Regions from separate parts of the Homo sapiens genome. Here region 2 is linked to region 1. Evidence: promoter capture Hi-C in human tissues and cell types (Jung and others, 2019). All regions are on one chromosome and are shown on one strand. The core of a region is centred on a gene start or on the middle of the fragment in contact, and the rest is flanking DNA. Distances in the headings are between cores, read along the strand shown.

Region 1 (7,094 bases), core at 1,967-4,466:
CACCGCACCGGGCCCAGAGACAACCTGTTCTGCAGCCCATTTGCTTCTTCCAGAGTCTCCCTCTGTCGTCCGGGCTAGAGTACACTGGCTCGATCTCGGCTCACTGCAACCTCCGCCTCCCAGGTTCAAGCGATTCTCCTGCCTCAGCCTCCTGAGTAGCTGAGATTACAGGCACCTGCCACCACGCCTGGCTAATTTTTGTATTTTTAGTAGAGATGAGGTTTCACCATGTTGTCCAGGCTGGTCTCAAACTCCTGACCTCAGGTGATTTGCCTGCCTCAGCCTCCCAAAGTGCTGCGATTACAGGTGTGTGAGCCACCGCCCCCACCCTCTATTTGCTTCTTTGAGATGAATCACCCCATAAATGATTGGTAAACAGAGTAATGATGTCAGCATAACACAAGCATGTTGGTTAACATGCAATTTTCTCCAGGAAGTTAACATTTTGAAGCAATCAGGGCCAAGCTTTCTCACAGTTAAAGGGGAAGCCTTAGTACTAAAAGAAGATCTTCAGAGGAAAAAGCTGCAAATCTACAGAAGTGTCTTCCTTTGGATCCACGGTGGCTGGTTTAGTGACTTCAAAGACCACCATATTTGTCACAGTGTTATGCCTATGGCAAATCCATGAATGCAGATGAAGAAATTGCAAATATATTTCTCCCATATTAAAATAACAGATTAATGAAAAAGATCACACCTTGGATCACATTTCGAGTTTTGATGAAAATGATCCCCATCAATAGTTAATATCTCCAACCAGCATCCCCAAAGAGGAAGCATAAGCCCCACCTTCAAGGCTGCAAAGTGCTGCTGAAAGCAAATGCTCATGGAAATTTACCTATTCTAGTGTTTCTATTAGCATCATTATTGGTTTTGTAGCACTCTGAATATAAAGTTGTATACAAGAGGCCGGGCATGGTGCCTCACACCTGTAATCCCAGCACTTTGAGAGGCCAAGGCGGGCGGATCACGAGGTCAGGAGATCGAGACTATCCTGGCCAACATGGTGAAACCCTGTCTCTACTAAAAATACAAAAATTAGCTGGGCATGGTGGCGCCCACCTGTAATTCCAACTACTCGGAAGGCTGAAGCAGGAGAATCACTTGAACCAGGGAGTCGGAGGTTGTGGTATGCCAAGACCGTGCCACTGCACTCCAGCCTGGCAACAGAGTGAGACTCCATCTCAAAAAAAAAAAAAGTTGTATACAGGTTTTTATTTTTACTTTTTTTTTTTTGAGTCAGGGTCTCGCTCTGTCTCTCAGGCTGGAGTGCAGTCAGTGCCACAATCACAGCTCACAGTAGCCTCGACCTCCTGGGCTCAGGTAATACCCCTATACCTCAGTCTCCCGAGTAGCTGGGAACACAGGTGCACACCACCACACCCGCCTAATTTTTTATTTTTTTGTAGAGACGGAGTCTCCCTATGTTGCCCAGGCTAGTCTGAAACTCCTGGACTCCAGTAATTCTCCCTCCTCGGCCTCTGAAAGTGCTGGGATTACAGGCATGAGCCACCGTGCCCAGCTAGTTGCATATATTTTGAGCAATCTGTCTCTAACTCTATTTTTTCCATGAAGTCTTGTTAATTTTAGTGCACCGTTTTGAAGAACTGAAGGTTTTTTAAGAATGCATATAGCAGGTTATAGCAGAAACACTTATACTCAGAATGAAGCTGGGGCTCTCTCTTCCAACAAGCATTTTTGATATGCTCCGAGTGTCCCTGCTAGGTAGCCAGGAGACCAGGTAACCCACTTCCCTCTGACAATGGAACAATTCCCCAAGGACCCTGAGGGGCAGTTCTCTGGAGTTTGGGCACTAGAGTCCCTCTTATTTCCTCTTCTTCTCTCCTCCCTCTAGACCCCATACCACTCAGGAGAGGCCAAGTAAAAAGACCCAGAATTTTGCCTCTTACAAGCTTAGAGATCTTGAAGAAGTCACTGAACCTCTGCGGGACCTACTTTCCTCATTCTTTAAATAGAAAGGCAGTGGGTTTTTTGTTTGTTTGTTTTTTGTTGTTTTTTTTTTTGTTGTTGTTGTTTTTGTTAATCGTGGCGATGGTTATTTATTTATTTATTTATTTTGAGACGGAGTCTTGCCCTGTCGTCCAGGCTGGAGTGCTGTGGCGTGATCTTGGCTCACTGCAACCTCCACCTCCCAGGTTCAAGCGATTCTCCTGCCTCAGCCTCCCGAGTAGCTGGGATAGATTACAGGCGCACACCACCACGCCCGGCTAATTTTTTTTTTTTTTTTTAAATAGTAGAGACGGGGGTTTCACCATGCTGGCCAGGCTGGTCACGAACTCCTGGCCTCGTGATCCGCCCGCCTTGGCCTCCCATAGCGCTGAGATTACAGGCGTGAGCCACCGCGCCCGGCCTGGTTGTTAATTTTTAAAACTGCCTTTCATTTTTGCTTTGCCATTTATAGCTCTGTAGCCTTGCACAAATGACTTCACTTCTCTATGAGTCATCTGTAAAATGGGGCTCTTTGTGAAGACTTAACGATACCACGTGTACAAAGCACTGAATACAACATGCACATTAAGCTCCCCGAAATTGAAACTCCTATAAAATAGGAATCGGGGATTCTCAAGAGCAGGAGTTCTGACTTCAGCAGAGGAACCCAGAGCTGGTGGGGAAAGCAGACGTGGCTGTGACATCCCCAGGGACACTAAACACATCCTCCCAGCCCCATCTTCCCCGCAGAGTCCCGCCACCGGCCCGACCCCTAACTTGCTCCAACCACCCGCCGACGCCCGCAGCCCGCTGTTTGGGGGCCGCCCCCTGCAGCGCCAGGTCCCCGCGCGGACTACAGTTCCCAGCGTACATCTCGGTCGGGGGGTCCGAGGGGCCGTCCTGCCTCAGGGATAAGGTCCAGGCTGCGTTCGCGGCTCCGGGCAGTCACAGTCATGCACGCAGCTCCTATTTTTCGCGTTGCTAATCGCGTCCGTTGCAGTCCAACCCATCCTGGGCCGCGGCCCCCACAGGGTCTGTGAGGAGCGCTTCCCCCCGCCCCGGGCGCCCGCTACGCCGCGTCCGAAGGAGGGGCCGAGGCCGGGCTCATCTCCCCGGGAGGACTCCTTCGGCTTCGTGGGGTGTCATGTCCATTGCGGCCCGAGGCTGGCCGCGGGGCTCTGCTGGAGGGCGCTGAGAGCCGGGCCCCGAGGCCGCACGGCCGGAGACTACAACTCCCAGGAGGCACCGCGGCGGCGGCGCCCACACGTCACTCGGGCCCCGCCGGTGGCCCGGGGAAGCAGCACGGGCGGGGGGCAGGGGCTGGGGCCGACCGGGAGGCCGGTGCCAAGGATGGGGGCCGCCCGGCTGCCCCGCGCGTGAGGAGGCCGAGGGGCGCGCCACCCCGGCCCGGGGCGGCCGCCCCAGGGGCCCCGCCACCCCCGCCCGGCCCGGCAGTCGTGGCCCGGGATGCGGAGCCGGGGGCCGCCGGTGGAGCTGCGCGGGGTGAGCGGCGCGGGGAACGGGGACTGCCTGCCGCCCTCGCCCTCGTCCCCCACCGGCGGACCCCGGCGGGCATTCGAGAGCCGCGCGGCCAGGCCCTCTTAGCCCTCTGCCGTTTGGGGGGCACGGGTGAACCTGCCGCCCCACTCCCACCCCGCCCCGCCCCGCCCGTACAGCCAAATCGGAAGGGACGAGCCTGCCCTTTGAAAGGGTTTTTTTTCTTGCTCCTGCGGAGGGCGCCCCAGCCATGGCCCTCAGGAGCTCCCTAGACCCCGCAGGGACTGCCCTCCATCCCGGCCGCCGGGGCCCGCCCTCTGCATCCCGCGGGCAGCCTGTGTGAAGCGGCCTCCCGCAGCCCCCGGCCCCTCCCCCATGGAGGAGGAGGAGGGGGCGGTGGCCAAGGAGTGGGGCACGACCCCCGCGGGGCCCGTCTGGACCGCGGTGTTCGACTACGAGGCGGCGGGCGACGAGGAGCTGACCCTGCGGAGGGGCGATCGCGTCCAGGTGCTTTCCCAAGACTGTGCGGTGTCCGGCGACGAGGGCTGGTGGACCGGGCAGCTCCCCAGCGGCCGCGTGGGCGTCTTCCCCAGCAACTACGTGGCCCCCGGCGCCCCCGCTGCACCCGCGGGCCTCCAGCTGCCCCAGGAGATCCCCTTCCACGAGCTGCAGCTAGAGGAGATCATCGGTGTGGGGGGCTTTGGCAAGGTCTATCGGGCCCTGTGGCGTGGCGAGGAGGTGGCAGTCAAGGCCGCCCGGCTGGACCCTGAGAAGGACCCGGCAGTGACAGCGGAGCAGGTGTGCCAGGAAGCCCGGCTCTTTGGAGCCCTGCAGCACCCCAACATAATTGCCCTTAGGGGCGCCTGCCTCAACCCCCCACACCTCTGCCTAGTGATGGAGTATGCCCGGGGTGGTGCACTGAGCAGGGTGCTGGCAGGTCGCCGGGTGCCACCTCACGTGCTGGTCAACTGGGCTGTGCAGGTGGCCCGGGGCATGAACTACCTACACAATGATGCCCCTGTGCCCATCATCCACCGGGACCTCAAGTCCATCAACAGTAAGTGGTGTCCTCTCCCCAAAATTCCTTCCACAGAACCTCTCAAGGCCAGGCCTAGGTGGTGGGAAACAGGGTGAGGGACACCAGATGACACTGTGCCTGGAGTGAGAAGGGGCAGCAGTATGATACCTTCAGGGTGAAGGTGAGGTAGGCCTTGCCTGCCTTAAGGGAGAAAAAGGAGGCTCAGAAAGGTTGAAGGACTTACCTGCCTCCCAGGCTGCAGAGTCACAATCGCTCAGTAAACATGTATCCATGAACACCTGCGTTCCCTGCATGAACAGGACAGATGCAGTGCCTGCCTTCAAGGTGCTTGCCATCCAGCCATGCTGCCAGAGTCCACCAGGCAGAGACAAAAAGAGCCTACCCCGTCTGGAGTCAGTGTCTCTCAACCCCAGCACTATTGGCACTTGAGGCCAGATCATTGTTGTAGGGGCTGTCCTGTAAATTGTGAGTTGCTTAGCGGCATCTTTAGCCTCTTCCCACTAGATGTCATTAGCATTCCCTGCCCCCTCTCCCCAGCTATGACAACCAAAAGTGTCTCCAGGCATTGCAAATGTCCCCTGGGGGGCAGAATCACCCCCAGTTGAGAACCATTTCCTGGAGTCTTCATAGGCCGAGCTGGCCAAGGCAAACTGGAAAAGATGAGGGAGGAATTAAATTGATGTGGCTTATATAAAAGCTTCCAGGCTGCCTGATAGGTTCTCCAAAGTTGATTGGTTGGTTGAATAAATAATGGAGCCAGGTAGAAGGGAACATTCTGCAAGACTCATTTCTAGATGGAAGAGCTTCATGTGGTGTCAACAAGTATTAATTGAGCACCTATTAAGCAGGAGCCCAGCTGGGAGTAAGACAGCCATGGTTTCTGCCCTGACAGTACTCACAGGCTAGCAATTTCATTCATTCATTCCACAGATATTTCCAGAGTGCTGTGTGCCAGACCCTGTCCCAGGGATACAGCAAGAAAAAAAAAATCTTACATTCCTGGCTCTCCCATTCGTGCTGTGCCCCATCTCACTCCCTTTCATTTCTTCATTCATTTGTTCATTCTTCCATTTGGTATTTACCAGGCCAGATCATGTGCTAAGCAAAGGCATCAGCAGTGGAGAAGGCCAGCATGTCCCCGGCCCTCACGTCACTCACAGTTAAGCCCCAAAATGTGAAGGTGCCCCCTTTGCTCTCAACACCCACATCTCATCTATTCCTGATTTCTGTCACTTCTACATCTTGAAATTTATTTTAATCCATCCCACTATTTTTAGGAATATATTGCTATTCCCCACCCATAGCAATTGTAAGCCCCTAGAATAGAGGGACTGCATCTTCCTTGCCTCCCAAGCCTGACATTTGTATATCAACAGAGAGCTTGGCTGGGCGCGGTGGCTCACGCCTGTAATCCCAGCACTTTGGGAGGCCGACGTGGGTGCATCACCCGAGGTCAGGAGTTCGAGACCAGCCTGACCAATATGGTGAAACCCCTTCTCTACTAAAAATACAAAAATTAGCTGGGCATGGTGGCATGCATCTGTAATCCCAGCTACTCAGGCTGAGGCAGAAGAATCGCTTGAAACCAGGAGGTGGAGGTTGCAGTGAGCCGAGATTGCACCACTGCACTCCAGCCTGGGTGACAGAGCAAGATTCCATCGCAAAAAAAAAAAGCTAACATGTGACCACGATGTGCCAGAGCTGGTGCTGTGTCTGGGGAACTGATGCTTATGCCCCAGCACCTCTGAAATGTTGGGTAAATGGAGGCAGGGCCACCCAGCATGCTCCTGTTGAAGGCTGGGACTCCTCAGCCCTTCCTCACCTCTGCTGATTGACAGCACGCCCCACACCCCCAGGTTTTTTGTAGCCAGTGCTATCTGGTCAAAGGGTCAGTGGGCCTCTTATGGCCAGGGCTTCCTCCCGGGGTGATGGGTCTGCTCTGTGCCAGAAACAGAGGACACAGCGCCTCCACAGCACTGCTTCCCCACTCATCCTACCCTAAGGAGCGCCTCATCTGCCATCATTCATTCATTGGTTCATTCCACCAGTAATTCTTAAGTGCCTACTCTTACTAGGCACTGCCTCAGCTCTGGGATTACAGAAGTGAACAAGGCAAGATTTCTCCCTCCCCCAGCTATGGAATTTATATTCCGGTGAACAGGAATAAATGATGGATAGATGGATACCAAAATTTCAGAGAGTATCAGGGGCTCTCAGTGGACTAAGGCAAAGGCTGGAGCAGAGGGTTCTCTTTATTTAGATCGGGTGGTCAGGGAAGGCAACATTTGAGCAGAGACCTGAACAAAGGGGACCCAGCTTTACAAAGATCTGGGGAAGGGGAACAGTGGGGCACATGCCCTGAGGTGGGAGTGAGTGTGTCTCACTGGAGAACAGCAAGACCAGAACAGCAGGCATTGAGGCAGAGATGGGAGGAAGTAGGATCAGAAAGGCTGGCAGGAGCCAGATCACATAGGACCTTGGGGGCCATGGTGAGGACTTGGGGTATTTTATTTGATGTAGTGGAAGCCATTAGAGGATTTGAAGCAGGGAGTGACATGATTACATAAAGATTTTGAAGGGGGACTGACTTAGGCCCAGCCTGGGAAAT
Region 2 (6,649 bases), core at 2,793-5,292, 520 kb before region 1:
CAGTTAGAATGGCAATCATTAAAAAGTCAGGAAACAACAGGTGCTGGAGAGGATGTGGAGAAATAGGAACACTTTTACACTGTTGGTGGGACTGTAAACTAGTTCAACCATTGTGGAAGTCAGTGTGGCAATTCCTCAGAGATCTAGAACTAGAAATACCATTTGACCCAACCATCCCATTACTGGGTATATACCCAAAGGACTATAAATCATGCTGCTATAAAGACACATGCACACGTATGTTTATTGTGGCACTATTCACAATAGCAAAGACTTGTAACCAAGCCAAATGTCCAACGTTGATAGACTGGATTAAGAAAATGTGGCACATATACACCATGGAGTACTATGCAGCCATAAAAAATGATGAGTTCATGTCCTTTGTAGGGACATGGATGAAATTGGAAATCATCATTCTCAGTAAACTATCGCAAGAACAAAAAACCAAACACTGCATATTCTCACTCATAGGTGGGAATTGAACAATGAGAACACATGGACACAGGAAGGGGAACATCACACTCTGGGGACTGTTGTGGGGTGGGGGAAGGGGGGAGGGATAGCTTTAGGAGATATACCTAATGCTAAATGATGAGTTAATGGGTGCAGCACACCAGCATGGCACATGTATACATATGTAACTAACCTGCACATTGTGCACATGTACCCTAAAACTTAAAGTATAATAATAATTTTTTAAAAAAGAAAATGACATAAGAAAAAAAAAAAAGAAAAAACAGATAAAGTGCACTTTGTCTGTATTTACAGCCCATAATCAAGAAATCATTGCCCAATCTCATGTCATGATGATATCTGCCTGTCATTATCATTTCTCCTATCATTATCATTGAAGGTCTTACGTTTACTCATTGATACATTTTGAGTTCACTATTGTATATGTTATAAGCTAAGGGACCAGTATGTGTAAGTCCAGTTTTCCCAGCATCACGTGTTGAGAAGTCTGTCCTTTTCCAATGCGATGGTCGTAGCCCATTGTGGACTCTCAGGTGACCCTCTGTGAGTGTTTCTAGGCTCTCTATTCTACTCCTTTGATTTCTATGCCTCTCCTTAAGCCAGCACCACACTGTCATGATATTATAGCTTTTTAAAGAGGTCAAACATTGGCCACAATAAAATATGCACTTCCAAAGCCATTTTTAGGTATTATATATCATGGATTAGGCTCTTTTTTTTTATTCTCAGGACCTACATGGACACTATTTCTCATCCTTGTGATACAGGAGTTATTAAGAAATAATTTTTAGGTAGATAGTAAGGGTAAAAGTTCTTGGTGGAAATTTTCCTGTAATAAGAAACAACCCCCAAACCATCTCTTTTCTAACAGAAAAGGTGGCTTGAAGGGCCAGGAGAGCAAGCTTTGATATGCAAATACTGGGTCATTAGAAACGAGGTTCACTCAATGTGGTGATTCCTGCCATCTTTTCCTTGTCACCAGGTGTACCAAGTGTCATGGCCACTTTCAGATAACACCATGTGTTCGAAACATCATGGCAACCCGCATTTGCATATTAAAGGGCTAAGATGGGAGGGCCAGATTTTTCACAGGCTACAGAAATTACACACCTGGTCAAACCAATCCCCTGGGCCCTATGGAAACCAGAAGCCGCCTCCTCCAGCATCCCAATATAAGCAATCACTTTTCCACCACACATGGTTTTTATGTGTGTGTGTGTGATAGGTTTTTATTTATTATTATACTTTAAGTTCTAGGGTACATGTGCACAACGTGCAGGTTTGTTACATATGTATACATGTGCCATGTTGGTGTGCTGCACCCATTAACTCGTCATTTACATTAGGTATTTCTCTTAATGCTTTCCCTCCCCCCATCATTCTGAGCAAACTATCGCAGGGACAGAAAACCAAACACCGCATGTTCTCACTCGTAGGTGGGAATTGAACAATGAGAACACTTGGACACAGGGTGGGGAGCATGGGGGGTTTTTTGTTCGAATCCCCCTCTCTCTGTCTCTGTACGGGGGAGCTGTTTTCTTCCTTCCTTCTTTCTTGCCTATGAAACTTTTCACCCCTTAAAACCACTCCACATGTGTCCATGTTGTTAATCTTATCAGCACGAGACCAAGGACCCTGGTTCCCTCCAGTCATCGGAGCCATATCTTTTAGGTGCATTGGCCAGGAATGGGAATTCATTCATCAGACTGGTGAGTATGGAGCAAATCTCAACTTTAAATCTGTCTTTTAATCTCTAGGCTCTCTTCCAGCTATCCTGCCACCAAACTTTCTTTCTCTCTCTACCCGCGGTCTCTTACTGTCTCTCTCACTGTGTCTAATGTGCAGGAATCTTTACAGTTCAGGGAAACAGGTCTGTTAGAGAAGATCATGAATCAAGGCAGGCAGTAACTCAATAAACGTCTGTCTCTCTAAGGTTTCGCTGGTGAGCACATGGTATTTCTAAGCCAAAACCGCCACCTGGTGGAAATAAAAATCCTCTTCATGAGACACTTGGTTCTCTGTGGTACGTTGCAGCTTCACAATTTCTCCATTTTGCACTTTTTTACTGCTACTTCTGTGGACGGGAAACTCTGGTTTCAACCATTAGGAGTAAGATGTCTTCCACAGCCAGATTTTAGTCCCAATATTGTCCCATCAGTAGGAAAACTGCCATTCGGTTCCTACACTCTTTTAAGGCACCTATTCTGTCTCCAATTAAGACAGTACTTAATTGGTAAGGGGATATTAAGTTTAGAAGTTAACCAGAACAGTTTTTTTTAAAGGGTAAATGCATTAGCACGGGTCATAATAGCAGGCAATCTAGCACATTGCCTCCATTAAAGGAGCCTTGCCCAGAGGTGACACAGTCTCCCCGGAGATCCGTTTTCAGGGAGCCAGGCAAACTGCACATGTTTAGGAAATCAAAGGTAAATCACACAAGGCAGATAAGCTAAGACTGCATGGGTAAGCACGGGTAGCCCCATCACTTAGTTCATCCAGCTCTATGGCTTGGAGGACCACACCTACAGCCATGGGTGGCACATTTAACATGGTGCCGGGATCCAGAAACCAGGGAGGGGAAGTAATCAGAGGATGCTCCCTGTCTGCTCCTCCACTCTGGGTCATACCAAAAGGAAGGAGACTAAGAAGATGCTTTGTATTCTTTCTTCTTTTTCTAAATGGATAATAAATTATCTTTAGGTTGCACCCCTCTGGAGTGCACTCTGAAACACTGAAACTTCCTTAATCTCAAAACTGTAAAGAGAAAAGCAATTTATTTTCTTTTGCACAAGGACATGGCATTTTTACTAAATGGGAGGGAAGCGGTTCTCATAAACAACCCTAACTAAAACTTCAATAGCTCAGGAAATGATAGGAAAAGGAAGTACTTTTTAATACTCACTATAAAAGGCCTAGAGGAAACCAGGGCCAAACCTCTCAGTTACTCTAAGCTGTCTATAATGAACCAAAAGCCAGATAATAATTCTGTAGCCTTTATGGAAAGGCCAAGAGAGGCACTAATAGAGTACATCTCCTTATCCCCTAATTCAATGGAGGAACAGCTCATTTTGAAGGAGAAGTTTATTACAAAAGCAGCTCCTGATATTAAAACTAAAAAAGCAAGCTTAGGACAAAATACCACCTTAGAGAACCTCCTGCAAGTGGCGACTTTGGTCTTTTATAATAGGGACAAGGAGGAGTCCCAACAAAAGCGGGGGAATCTCAAGAGAAGGACAGAGGCTCCAGCAGCAGCTTTGCAAGCTTGTAAAGTCCAGAATCCCCAAGGTACATCCACTAGTTGCTATTGGCATGGCAGCCCAGAGCATTTTTAAAAGGAATGCCCAGGCAGCAAGATGAAGCAAACTCAACCCTATCCAGGCTGTGGCAAAAACCACTGGAAACAGAACTACCCCCAGAGGCAGAGGTCACTGGGTTCAAAATCAGCCTCACAGATGGTCCAGCAGGAATGATGGGTCCAAGGGCTCCAACATTGGCTCCAGTGACTCAAACTGCCATAGAGCACAGGAGTCCTAGAGGATTCTGGAAATTTACAAAAGGAAAGTAAACCTCCTTCTAAGCACTAGAGCCAGTCTCTCTCTTTTCTCCTCTCTAATCCAGGCCTCCGCTCTTCTCATAGCACAACTGTAAAGGGCATCTCGGGAAAAACTCTAATCCAATATTTTTTTCAACCTTAGCTGTAGTTAGAAAGACCTATTTACACGTGCTTCCAAGTCATTGTCATAATAGCTCTACTAGTCAAAAAAGCCTCCAAGTTAACCCTAGGAAATAATTCAACTGTTTACAGCCCACATAATGTGGCAGGATCACTGACCTCTAAGGGGAGCTCTTAGCTAGTAAACAGCCAGTAAAGCAAGAAGTACATAAGGCAGGATGAGCAGTAGTCACTGCCCCAAACACAAGCACTCAATTAGCTGAGCTAATAGCTCTTACAAGAGCACTTAAATTAAGCCAGAGAAAGATAGCTAACATTTCTACTAACTCCAAGTATGCTTTCCTAATTGTCCATGCTCATGCTGCTATTTAAAAGGAAAGGCATTTTCTTACCACTAATGAATCTCCCATAAAATATCACCAGGAAATTAATAGGTTATTATCCTCAGTTTTTCTTCCACAAGAAATAGCAGGATGCATTGTAGGGAACATCAAAAGAAAATAAATAAGGTAAGCAAAGGAAATAAATTAACTGGTCAGCCAGCTAAGACAGAGGCAAGGAAGTCTCAGGGCATTAACACAACTAGTGAAAGCCCAAGTCCAGGAACTAAAACCATCTTTATTTAATCCAGGAAATTTAGTATTAGTGAAAAATCTCATCTCTCTCCTTCCCTAAGCCAAGCTGGGAAGGGCCCTCCACTGTTCTTCTTTCAACCCTCTCAGTAGTAAAATTTACAGGAATCAACTCCTGAATACATCACACTAAAGTCAAAGCTTAAAAAGCTGGGGGAGCAACCCCTAACAGTCCAGAGAAACATCCAGAATGTCCATGTGGAAAAGCAGAAAATGTTAAGCTAAAAATCACAAAAATTAAGTAACTGAGTAAGGTCTACCCATCTTACTCAGTCCCACATTTACCTCAACATATACTTGTTGTCATTTCTGCCCTTTCCTGTCAAAATTTGCCACCAAATATTAAAACTTCTTTTTAATGTATAATTGCAGAAAATTTTAATGATAAATGAAATTGCACTTGGAACTCCGTAAATCCCCAAAGGGAAATGTTATATCTTGACAAGTAAAGTTTTAAACAAATGTTTTTTACTATCCCACTCTTGTGGGAATTGTTATAGTTATGCTACTATTTGTGATAAAACTATACACTGTGGCACCCACAATGTGGAATTCTGGTTGTAAAATTCTAATTCGTGCTCCTATGAGAATCTAATGCTGGGGCTTATCTGACAGGAGGCCACTCACGCAGTAATGCTTACCCACTGCTCACCTCCTGCTTTGTGGCTTCTTTCCTAACAGGCCACGGATTGTTACTGCTCTATGGCTTGAGGGTTGGGGACCCCTGCTCTAGGGTGTATCTCTTTCAGGGTTCCAACTAAAAGCCTAACTCTCTCTCCCACTTGGCAGACAACAACCTATAATTTTTGTATCTTCAGATCCACAAGACTGATAGAAGTTCTACTCTGCCACCACCTAAGAATCAACTTCTAATTTATGATACTATTTTAATTTCCCCAATTGTACAAAAGCATGTCCTTTATAGCTGTTTTAAAATCCATTATCCAATCAGGTTTCATGCACTTTGGTGCTATACTTCTTTGGTCTCTTTTAATCTAGAACATTCTCCCTGCCTTGTTATGACATTTTTTGATGCTTTTTGAATTTTTGTCATATATAAGGCTCCAAAAATGAAAATGAGCTTGGTGGTATGAGGAATTGAAAAGAGGTCAGTATATCAGGCATTTCTTGCACCACGTGTTATCCTCTCAGCCCCACCTCTTCATCCAGCCATTGCTAAGGTGACCAGGTCCAGACAGTTGTTCACTAGCTTCATGCAGGTACACACTGACAGTGCCTCTCCTTAGTATCTATCTTTCCAGTACCTTCCTCTTTCCAGCACTGGGCTTCTTTGAGATGGTAGAATAGGACTTTTGCAGAAATCCTCTCAGCACCCATGCATTTGCAAACCAAAGTTGTGGGAGACTTAATGCCAACAGGATGACTTTTTAACAACTGGGGATGGGGGCAGATGGATAAATACTTCCTTTCATCTTCTGGGCAGAGAGTACTAAGAAACATTTCTTATTTGGTCGGGGTGAGGGTGAAAACCAAGCTTATGCCAGAAAAAGTCATAGAAAGCAGCTGGACCCTCATACTGGGAACCTAAATCTCTTATTGGGCAGATCACTGTAAAGATCCATTGCTGGTAAGTGAAGTAGTGATTACCCATGGCATACTAAGTATCACAATTACTAAGTATTGCTTGGTATTACAATTACGAGTTCACAATGACTAAGCATAGTCGCCTGTGTGTTCTTGGCAGGAAGTGCTGAGAGAAGGTGAAGCACTGGACTCCAGAAGCTGTGGCACTAGAATGGTAGGGGTACAATGGGAATCATAGGATTCTGGAAGTATTTGGTTTGGTTTTAACTGCATTGGAATTATTTTTACAAAAAGAAAGAAAGAGCTGGGCTCAGTGGCTCACGCC

The links. Contacts are between HindIII fragments. The study calls those that stand out against the background at their distance.
Region 2: a fragment that was not itself captured here is called in contact with the fragment with the promoter of MAP3K10 in region 1 in 1 of the 25 tissues and cell types used here (lymphoblastoid cells).

The regions. Positions count from the first base shown.
Region 1 is chr19:40,188,210-40,195,303 of GRCh38, forward strand. MAP3K10 (mitogen-activated protein kinase kinase kinase 10) reads left to right here and starts at 3,217. Exons shown (of 10, transcript NM_002446.4): 1 at 3,217-4,504. The coding sequence starts at 3,823. RefSeq lists an enhancer at 2,445-2,684 and silencers at 2,845-3,344, 3,615-3,914. The HindIII fragment of the contact is 11,839 bases long and covers 1,190-7,094 here.
Region 2 is chr19:39,669,725-39,676,373 of GRCh38, forward strand. No RefSeq gene overlaps it. Among named protein-coding and RNA genes, the nearest start is that of LGALS16, 17 kb to the left of the region's middle. The HindIII fragment of the contact is 3,110 bases long and covers 2,488-5,597 here.